3 separate regions of the Homo sapiens genome follow, and all the other regions are linked to region 3. The links are contacts of gene promoters, found by promoter capture Hi-C in human tissues and cell types (Jung and others, 2019). All regions are on one chromosome and are shown on one strand. Each heading gives the region's core, a stretch centred on a gene start or on the middle of the fragment in contact. The rest is flanking DNA. Distances are from core to core; before and after follow the strand shown. Region 1 overlaps CHKA (choline kinase alpha). Region 2 overlaps CHKA (choline kinase alpha). Region 3 holds the start of TCIRG1 (T cell immune regulator 1, ATPase H+ transporting V0 subunit a3).

Evidence for each region. Contacts are between HindIII fragments. The study calls those that stand out against the background at their distance.
Region 1: a fragment that was not itself captured here is called in contact with the fragment with the promoter of TCIRG1 in region 3 in 1 of the 25 tissues and cell types used here (psoas muscle).
Region 2: a contact is called between a fragment that was not itself captured here and the fragment with the promoter of TCIRG1 in region 3, in 2 of the 25 tissues and cell types used here (lymphoblastoid cells and small bowel).

What each region holds. Positions count from the first base shown.
Region 1 is chr11:68,079,999-68,082,698 of GRCh38, reverse strand. CHKA (choline kinase alpha) reads left to right here. Exons shown (of 12, transcript NM_001277.3): 3 at 1,242-1,295. Among named protein-coding and RNA genes, the nearest start is that of MIR6753, 37 kb to the right of the region's middle. The HindIII fragment of the contact is 3,675 bases long and covers 1-2,700 here.
Region 2 is chr11:68,101,410-68,104,109 of GRCh38, reverse strand. The region is part of intron 1 of CHKA (choline kinase alpha); the gene reads left to right. Among named protein-coding and RNA genes, the nearest start is that of CHKA, 19 kb to the left of the region's middle. RefSeq lists a silencer at 389-589. The HindIII fragment of the contact is 5,457 bases long and covers 1-2,700 here.
Region 3 is chr11:68,037,744-68,040,681 of GRCh38, reverse strand. TCIRG1 (T cell immune regulator 1, ATPase H+ transporting V0 subunit a3) reads right to left here and starts at 1,657. Exons shown (of 20, transcript NM_006019.4): 1 at 1,563-1,657. RefSeq lists silencers at 1,466-1,545, 1,606-1,785 and an enhancer at 1,677-2,298. The HindIII fragment of the contact is 15,208 bases long and covers 1-2,938 here.

The DNA of each region.
Region 1 (2,700 bases), core at 82-2,581, 42 kb before region 3:
TTTTATATTACATGTACTGTTTATACAAAACATGCATTAAAACGTCTGTAATGTTATTTCAGTGTGTGATGGATGAGTGGTTGCTTTAAATCACTAGGTTTTTGATTGGTGCTAGAGTAGCTGGTGTTGCTTAACGTGGCATTTTTTTTCCTGTCCACACTTTCCACCCTTGGTACAGGTATTTTTGATAAAGCTGTGGAATGGAAAGGTATGTTTTTCATGGGGTGTTCAAGAATCTGTTACCTTAAATTTTTTTAAAGAGGTTTCCTTTCTGGGATTCCTTTTGTGTCTGGCTTAAGCAGACTTAGTTTAATTTAACAAGTAACATTTTTAGAGGCAGTATTTGAGTATAAAAGTTTGACGTGACACAAGTTTCTGACTTTACTTTTCCCCATTCCCTTATTAAAGATAGTACGAAGGATTTTAAAGCATTTGGGGTGGGGGGTTGCTCTTAAAATATATGATCTGTACCATGAGAAAGAATGTAGCCCAAGGGTTGTTTATGGTAGTTAATGATCTAGTGTGTTGTTATTGCTAGAATCCTGGTTATCATAAATTTGCAATTTCATTGAGGAAAGTGATATAAGTATTTCTTAATATATTAATATATGAAATAATTTTAGAGACTTTATTAAATACACACAGTCCTCTTTATGGTAGAGGAACAGTTCAGCTTGAGCTGGTGACCGGCTGAACTAGAGGGGTTACTCTGGGAAAGTGGCGAGTCGGCAGGGCATGTCTGCACAGATTTTGTGCCAGGTTTCCTGCCTGCACAGCGCTTTCTTCTCTGTCCAAGTTCTGTGCTGACCACAGCTGTCCACAGGCATGTTTACACTCCCTGTTCTTGCAGGTTGACTTGAGAGAACCACGTAGCTAAATTGGTGAGAGACTCAGCCTGACCGCTTGTCTTTAGAAGGCCTGATTGGAAGAGTGCACTCTATTGACTTTCCTCTAACAATGAAATTGTGAAAGGTACATGGGGCGGCTGTGAGACGTGCAGCTATCGGGTCTCACCGGCACATCCCTTTTCTCGTAAAGCAATGAAGCACTTTCTAAGGTGTTGGTACTAGTGCTGGAGGCTGCTGGTGCATTAGATGCTGCCCGTCACATCGGTGGGCTGAGAAACCTTCCTTAAAGACCTGTGATGTTTTGTAAACCCTGACTGTTCTGGTGGTTGCAAAGTTAGTGTCTGTTTAGTGTTCCCCATCTCACCAGAAGTGTTTCCTTTTTCTCATTCATAGAGGTCCTGTAATAAAGAGGGATCCGAACAAGCTCAGAAAGAAAATGAATTTCAAGTAAGTAATTCAGTCTTTCTGCATCTGTGTGAGATGTGAACTAGTGTTAGCCACCCTTCGCTACTCCAGGGCTTGGCAGTGCCTCTTATCTACCCTTGGAAAATCCTGATCTATCTTTCTACGAGGAGGGGCTCTTGGTATATCTATCAGAAGCCACCTTACGGAGACTGAGTGAGCGGTGGGTATTCCTCATTCCTCCTGAGAGTGTAGACTGTGGAAGTTTGGTGTCTTTATGGCAATCGAAACAGCATTCGGATGTTGGCAGATGGCAGCCAGGGGAGCATTCGTGTGTGGTACCTGATGAGGAGGCCCTGGCTGCCGCTGCTGTGATGCCTCTCTCACCCCCTTTCTGGTCGTTCCCACACTTCCCATCAGGAAGCGGGTCACTGCCCAGTGGTTTTGGTGGCCACCCATTTTCCATGGGCTAACAGCAATGTTTTTTCCTATGGATGATACCCAAGTTGGAAAAGCTTCTTCCTAGACTTAGAGAATGTGACCCCACTCTCTGAAACACACATGTGCAGATGGCTTGAGGCCAAGAGCACTGACCGATGGAGCCTCAGAGGCAGGGGTCTGGGGTGTTGGTCTGCATGCCCCAGCGTAAGCACCTTTTGAGCATCTCTGCCATTATGTGCAGGCTCACAGAGAAGGGTGCATGTGCACACATGCCCAACATACGTGGGTCTAAGATGTAGATACACACATCGCCACATCACTTTTACCAATTGTATATTGATTATTAAAATGGTCAAGAAATAGGCTGAATGCGGTGGCTCACACCTGTAATCCCAGCATTTTGGGAGGCTGAGGCAGGTGGATCATGAGGTCAGGAGTTTGAGACCAGCCTGGCCAACAAGGTGAAACCCCGTCTCTACTGAAAATAGAAAAATTAGCCAGGCATAGTGGTGGGCACCTGTAATTCCAGCTACTTGGGAGGCTGAGGCAGGAGAATTACTTGAACCTGGGAGGCGGAGGTTGCAGTAGACCGAGATTGTGCCACTGCACTCCAGCCTGGGCGACAGGAGTCGTCCCCACCAAATGCAAAAAAAAAAGAAAAAAATCAAGAAATAGACATTAAAACGGTTGAGATAAAAAAGGAATGAAAGTGATGATATTTTTTCCACACTTTTCAGCGGCTTGTTTTACATGTGTCTTGCTCTGGGTGCCCTGCTAGAGGATCTAGAACTTGTGCTCTCTGGAGTGACAGTGACTGGGAAGTCCTTGGGTGGGAAGTGATTGACAATCTGTTGTGAACCATTCCAAGCCCTTTGTGCAGAGGCCTTTGGACATCCTGTTAGCTGAAAATGGTGGATCACCAGGACCTGCGTGATGCTAAATCCAAAGTACTTTTCAGTTCTCATTTTATTTTGACTTCTCAGTAGCATTTGACATGACCCCCACCCTT
Region 2 (2,700 bases), core at 36-2,535, 64 kb before region 3:
TTATTCATCTGTTGATGGACACTTACATTTATTCTATAATCAATTGATGGCTTTTGTGACTAGTGCTGCAATATACATGAGAGTGTAGATGTCTGATGTACTGATTTCATTTCCTCTGGATGTATTACCAGTAATGGGATTGCTGGATTTTTAATTTTTTATTTTATTTAATTAATTTATTTATTTTTTATTTTTTTGAGACTGAGCCTTGCTCTGTCTCCCAGGCTGGAGTGCAGTGGTGTGATCTCGGCTCACTGCAACACTGCCTCCCGGGTTCAAGTGATTCTCGTGCTTCCTCCTCACAAATAGCTGGGATTACAGATGTACACCACCATGCGTGGCTAATTTTTTTGTTTTTTTAATAGAGACAGAGTTTCACCATGTTGGCCAGGCTGATCTCGAATTCCCGACCTCAGGTGATCTGCCCGCCTCAGCCTTCCAAAGTGCGGGGATTACACGCATGAGCCACTGCACCAAGCCTGGATTTTTTTTTTTTAAACTTGCTTTGATGAGCAGGAGCTGGATCTTAATGGTAATTCTATTTTTAATTTTCTGAGGACCCTGCATACTGTTTTTCATATCTGTACTAACTTACATTGCCATCAACAGTGTGTAAGGGTTCCCTTTTCTCCACATCCTTGTCAACGTTTGTTATCTTTTATCATTGAAAATAGACAGTCTAATAATGACTAGTGGTGGTCAGCATTTTTTCATATACCTGTTGGCCATTTATTTTATTTTTTTTAAATTTACTGAGACAGGGTCTTGCTCCGTCACCCAGGCTGGAGTGCAGTAGCACAATCACAGCTCATTTGCAGCCTCAACCTCCCAGGCTCAAGTGATCCTCCCATCTCAACCTCCCGAGTAGTTGGGACTGCAGGCACGTGCTACCTACCACATGTGGCTTTCTGGCCATTTATTTGTCATCTTTTGATAAATGTCTGTTGGGTCTTTTGCCTTGTTTTTGTTATTGAGGGATGGAATCTTGCTCTGTCATCCAGGCTGGAGTACAGTGGTGCATTCATAGCTTACTTCAGCCTCAAACTCTTAGGCTCAAACAATCCTCCTATGTCAGCCTCCCAAGCTGGGAATATAGGCACACGCCACCATTTAGGGCAAATATATTTTTTTTTTTTTAAACAGGGTCTTGCTCTGTCACCCAGGCTAAAGTACAGTGCAGCCTTGACTTCCTGGGCTCTAGTGATCCTCTTGCCTCAGCCTCTTGAGTAGCTGGTGTCCATTTTTTAATTGGTTTCCTTTCCTTTCTTTGCTGTGAGTTCCTTGTATATTTTCTATATTATCCCCTTAACTGATGTATAGTTTGCAAATAGATTCTTCCATTCTGTAGGTTGTTTCTTCACTCTTGTTTCCTTTGCTGTGCAGAAGCTTTTTAGTCTGCTATAATCCTATTTGTTTATTTTTGTTTGTGTTGCCTGTGCTTTTGAGGTCTTTTAAAAAAAATTCCTGGCTCAGACCAAGGTCATGAAGCTTTTTCCCTATGTTTTCTTATGGCAGTTTCATAGTTTCAGGTCTTACTTTAAGTTTTCGATCCATTTTGGAGTTTATTTTTGTATATGGTGTGAGATAAGGATCTAATTTCATTCTTGTGCGTGCGATATCCAGTTTTCCCAACACTGTTTATTGAAGAGACTGTCTTTTTCCCTATTGTGTTCTTGACACTTGTTGAAAATCAGGTAGCTGTAAGTGTGGATTAATTTGTGGGCTTTTATTCTGTTATATTGGTCTCTGTCTGTTTTTATGCCAACACCATGCTGTTTTGGTTACTATGACTTTGTAGTATATGTTGAAGTTAGGTAGTGTGATTCCTCTAGCTTTGTTCTTTTTGCTCCAGATTGCTTTGGCTACTGGGGTCTTTTGTGATTTCATATAAATTTTAGGATTGGTTTTCCTATTTCTATGAAGAATGTCATTGGTATTTTGATAGGGATTGCATTGAATGTATAGATTGCTTTGGGTAGTATGGACTTTTTTTTTTCTTTTTTTTTTTTTGAGACAGAGTCTTGCTCTGTCACCCAGGCTGGAGTGCAGTGGCGTGATCTTGGCTCACTGCCACCTCCGCCTCCTGAGTTCAAGAGATTCTCCTGCCTCAGCCTCCCGAGTAGCTGGGATTACAGGCGCCCACCACCATGCCCAGCTAATTTTTGTATTTTTAGTAGAGGCAGGATTTTATCATGTTGGCGAGGCTGGTCTTGAACTCCTGGCCTCAGGTGATCAGCCCACCTCAGCCTCCCAAAGTGTTGGGATTACAGGCGTCAGCCACGCGCTTGGCCAGTATGGACATTTTAACAATATTAATTCTTCTAATACATGAACATGGGATATTGTTCCATTTATTTGTGTCTTCAGTTTCTCTGATCAATATTTTAAAGTTTTCATTGCAGAGCTCTTTCACCTCCTTGGTTAAATTTCTTTCTTTTTCTTTTCTTTTTTTTTTTGTTAGCTATTGTAAACAGGATTGTTTTCTTGATTTCCATTCCAGATAATTTGCTATTAGCTGGCATGCAGTGGCGTGATCACAGCTCACTCCAGCCTTGACCTCCTGGGCTCAAGTGATCTTCCCACCTGAGCCTCCCGTTTAGAAATAATACTGCTACTGATTTTTGTATGTTGATTTTGTATCCTGCAATCTTACTGAACTTATTAGTTCTCATAGTTTTTTGGTGGGGTCTTTAGGGTTTT
Region 3 (2,938 bases), core at 408-2,907:
GGCGGGGAAGGGCCCGGGGCCTTGCTCAAGGCCGATGTGGGGTGGGGGCAGGTGCCAGGCCACCTCCAACCCGCCCTGGATGCTGGGGCCCCTCCAGCTCCAAAGCCACTGCTCTCAGGGCCCAGGGCCCCTCTGTGGGAATCAGTTGCTTAGCTCGAAAATTAGGGGGAGGGGACAGGCCTGGTCAGGGCCCCGCCTGCCCAGCCAGTCACTTCCTCCCCTGGGTCTGGTTTACTTAACTCTAAACAGGGAAACGCAGCCCCAGCCCCAGCCTGGGAAAGGAGAGAAGGAGGGAACGAGGGAACACTGAGCAGATGGCCCAAGGCTGCAGGTGGGCAGGGCAGGGGGCAGCGGGGCTGGGTTCCATCCCTAAGGACCAGGCCCGGCCACAGGGCAGAGGGACTTGGAGCCCAGGCTGAGATTGGGTGTGTGACCTTGGGCAAGTCTCTCACCCTCTCTGTGCCTCTACTTCCTCTTTGGGTGAATGGGACGTGGCACCCCTGACAGAGACAGGATCTAGGGAGGTGACAAAAATAACCAGAGCCTCAACTGAATCCCTTCATCCACACGACCTCACACTAATCCCTGGGGGGAGAAACCCTTGGGGAGGGGGTACGGTGCTTTTGTTTCATACAGGACTCCACTGACACTTGGAGAGGTAAAGTCCAATGTTATGTGCCCAGCACAAAGGGTGAGCTCAGAGGAGGGTTGTGTCTGACCTGGCTCCCTTTGGGGCTGTGCTGGCCAAATAAGGAGGTGTGGGGAATCAGCTCTGGGGATCTGGGGAGGGGTCACCCCTGGCTCAGGGCCATCAGGGCTCCCACAGCCACTATGCCGAGGGCTCGAGGGCCGGGCTCCTTCCAGCACTTCCCAGGGGGTGGGGGAACAACCTGTAATGGGCGGGGGGAAAGGTGTGGGGACGTGATCAGCCCCCGTGCCTGGCATGTGAGGCTCCACTGGCTCACCCCCTACCCCTGTCCCCCTTGGTCCCCGCTCTAGCCAGGGTCACCCAGCCACTTTTATGGTGTAAATGAATACGCCTCCATCCTGCGGCCCTGGGGTCCAGGCTCCAGCCCACTCCTCACCCTGTGCCCCTTTCCTGGCCCCTCCAGGAACCCAGCAGGTCTCTCTGCACCTCTGCCCTCCCCTCCAGATGATGGGAAGGCAGTAGGAGAGGGTCTGGCGCCCCCTCCATTCCAAATGGGGTGGGCTCTGGAGTCAAATGACCCAGCTGGTCTCCAGCTCTGACACTTCCTAGTTGTGTGGTCTCAGCTTCCCCATCTGTAGAATGGGTCCCTCCCTCCAAGGAAGCAGCAGCGGGGAAAGCTCCGCGCACACCAGGCCCGGGAACGCTGGGCTGTGTTGGTAAACACCCCATCCTTCTCCTCCTCCCTTGGGGATCCTCCGTGGCCCCCCGCAAGGCCTGACACCCTGCGGGGTGGCGGGCTGAGCTGCATTCACGGAGCCAACTGGGTGGGGCGCCAGGATCTCCTCCCCGGGGCAGGGGGAAGAGGGTGGGCAGGAAATTCTGGGGCTCCGCAGACCCCGGCAGGGGCACTCACCCCGGGTGTGCTGCGCGCCGCGCCTCCGCTGCTGGCTGCCCCGCTCCGCGCACGCCGGGCGGGACTCAGAACTGCACTCCCGCCAGCCCGGGACTAGGCGCCGCTCACTCCTTTCCGGGCAGGCGGGACGACGGGGAGGGGCCAGGGACGCCCCGCCCCCGGCCCAAGGCTCCACTGGAGTCCAGGAAGTCTGGGAGAGGTTGAGCCCAGGCTGTGGCCTGGCGGACGGGTCCTGAGGCGCTTAATCCCGGAGAGGAGGCCTGGAGAAAGGAGCGGATAACAGACCACTGCCAACCGCGCGCGTCTATGCTGGCCCCGATGCAGGGGCAGCTCCGCTCAGGCCCAGCTCAGGATAGGAGATGAGACCCTGCTCTCCTCTCACTTCGAGGCTTGTGCGCCTCTGGCTGATGGGACCCCAACATTCGCAGGCTCATGGGCTTGGGGTCCCCAGGATGCTCCCCCACCTCCGGGACCCCTCCCTTGGGCGGCAGTGAAACCCGCCGGTGCTTACACCTTCCTGCTCTTGACCACCCTGGAGAGGCCCCGCTCTGGCCCTTGGGTGGGTGGCTGCCCCACTCTGGGCCTGCTTCACTGGCAGCAGGACACAGGGCCAGGCCATGCTGCCTTGTTCTGCCCAGCGCCCCGCACCCAGCAGGCCCTGGGAGATACCCTGGGGCCAGAGGCCAGCTGTCAGCTCCACCTGCAGCTGCAGCCGCGGGGGGTAGAGGGGGGTGTCACTGTGACCTTGCTCCAGGTCAGCACCATGGGCGTCATCAGGTCCTAGTGCCTGGAAGCTGGGACTCACGACCGTCCAGCTGCCTGCACTTTGGACAGGCCTGGGGCATTCCCACTGGAGGCCAGGGGCCCTTCAGCTCTGGTGATCCCTAAGCCCCACACAGCGAGCACAGGCCTGTGGGGCTGCGGCAGGGGTGGACAAGTGGAGCCCCAGAGCCGGGCCTGGAAACTGAGTCACAGCCAAGCTCAGCTGTGGTTCCTCAGAAAATTGGGGGACTTGTGGTTGGGCGCCATAGGCCTGTTCTGACAGGGTCGGGGCCTGATACAACCAGACAGCCTGAGTGGGGTCTCAGCAGTAAGTGCCTGGGAGACCACGGTAAGGGAAAGAACCCAGCGGTGAGCTGGAAAGACTGACCCGCTTGGAATAGAAGTATTCAGTGCACAGCTACAGGCTCCATGCCACGCTCTGACGGCGGTTACGTCTGGGAAAAGCTAAACCGGCGGTGCTTCAGGAGTCCTGCGCCTGCCTTGTTTTTGGAAAGAACACCTGTTTTCATCAGTGGCCAAGATGAGCTGCGGGCCAGACCTGTGGACACTTCCCGGGCTCCAGGCTTCCCCTCGCCTCCTGCAGTTACTTCTCA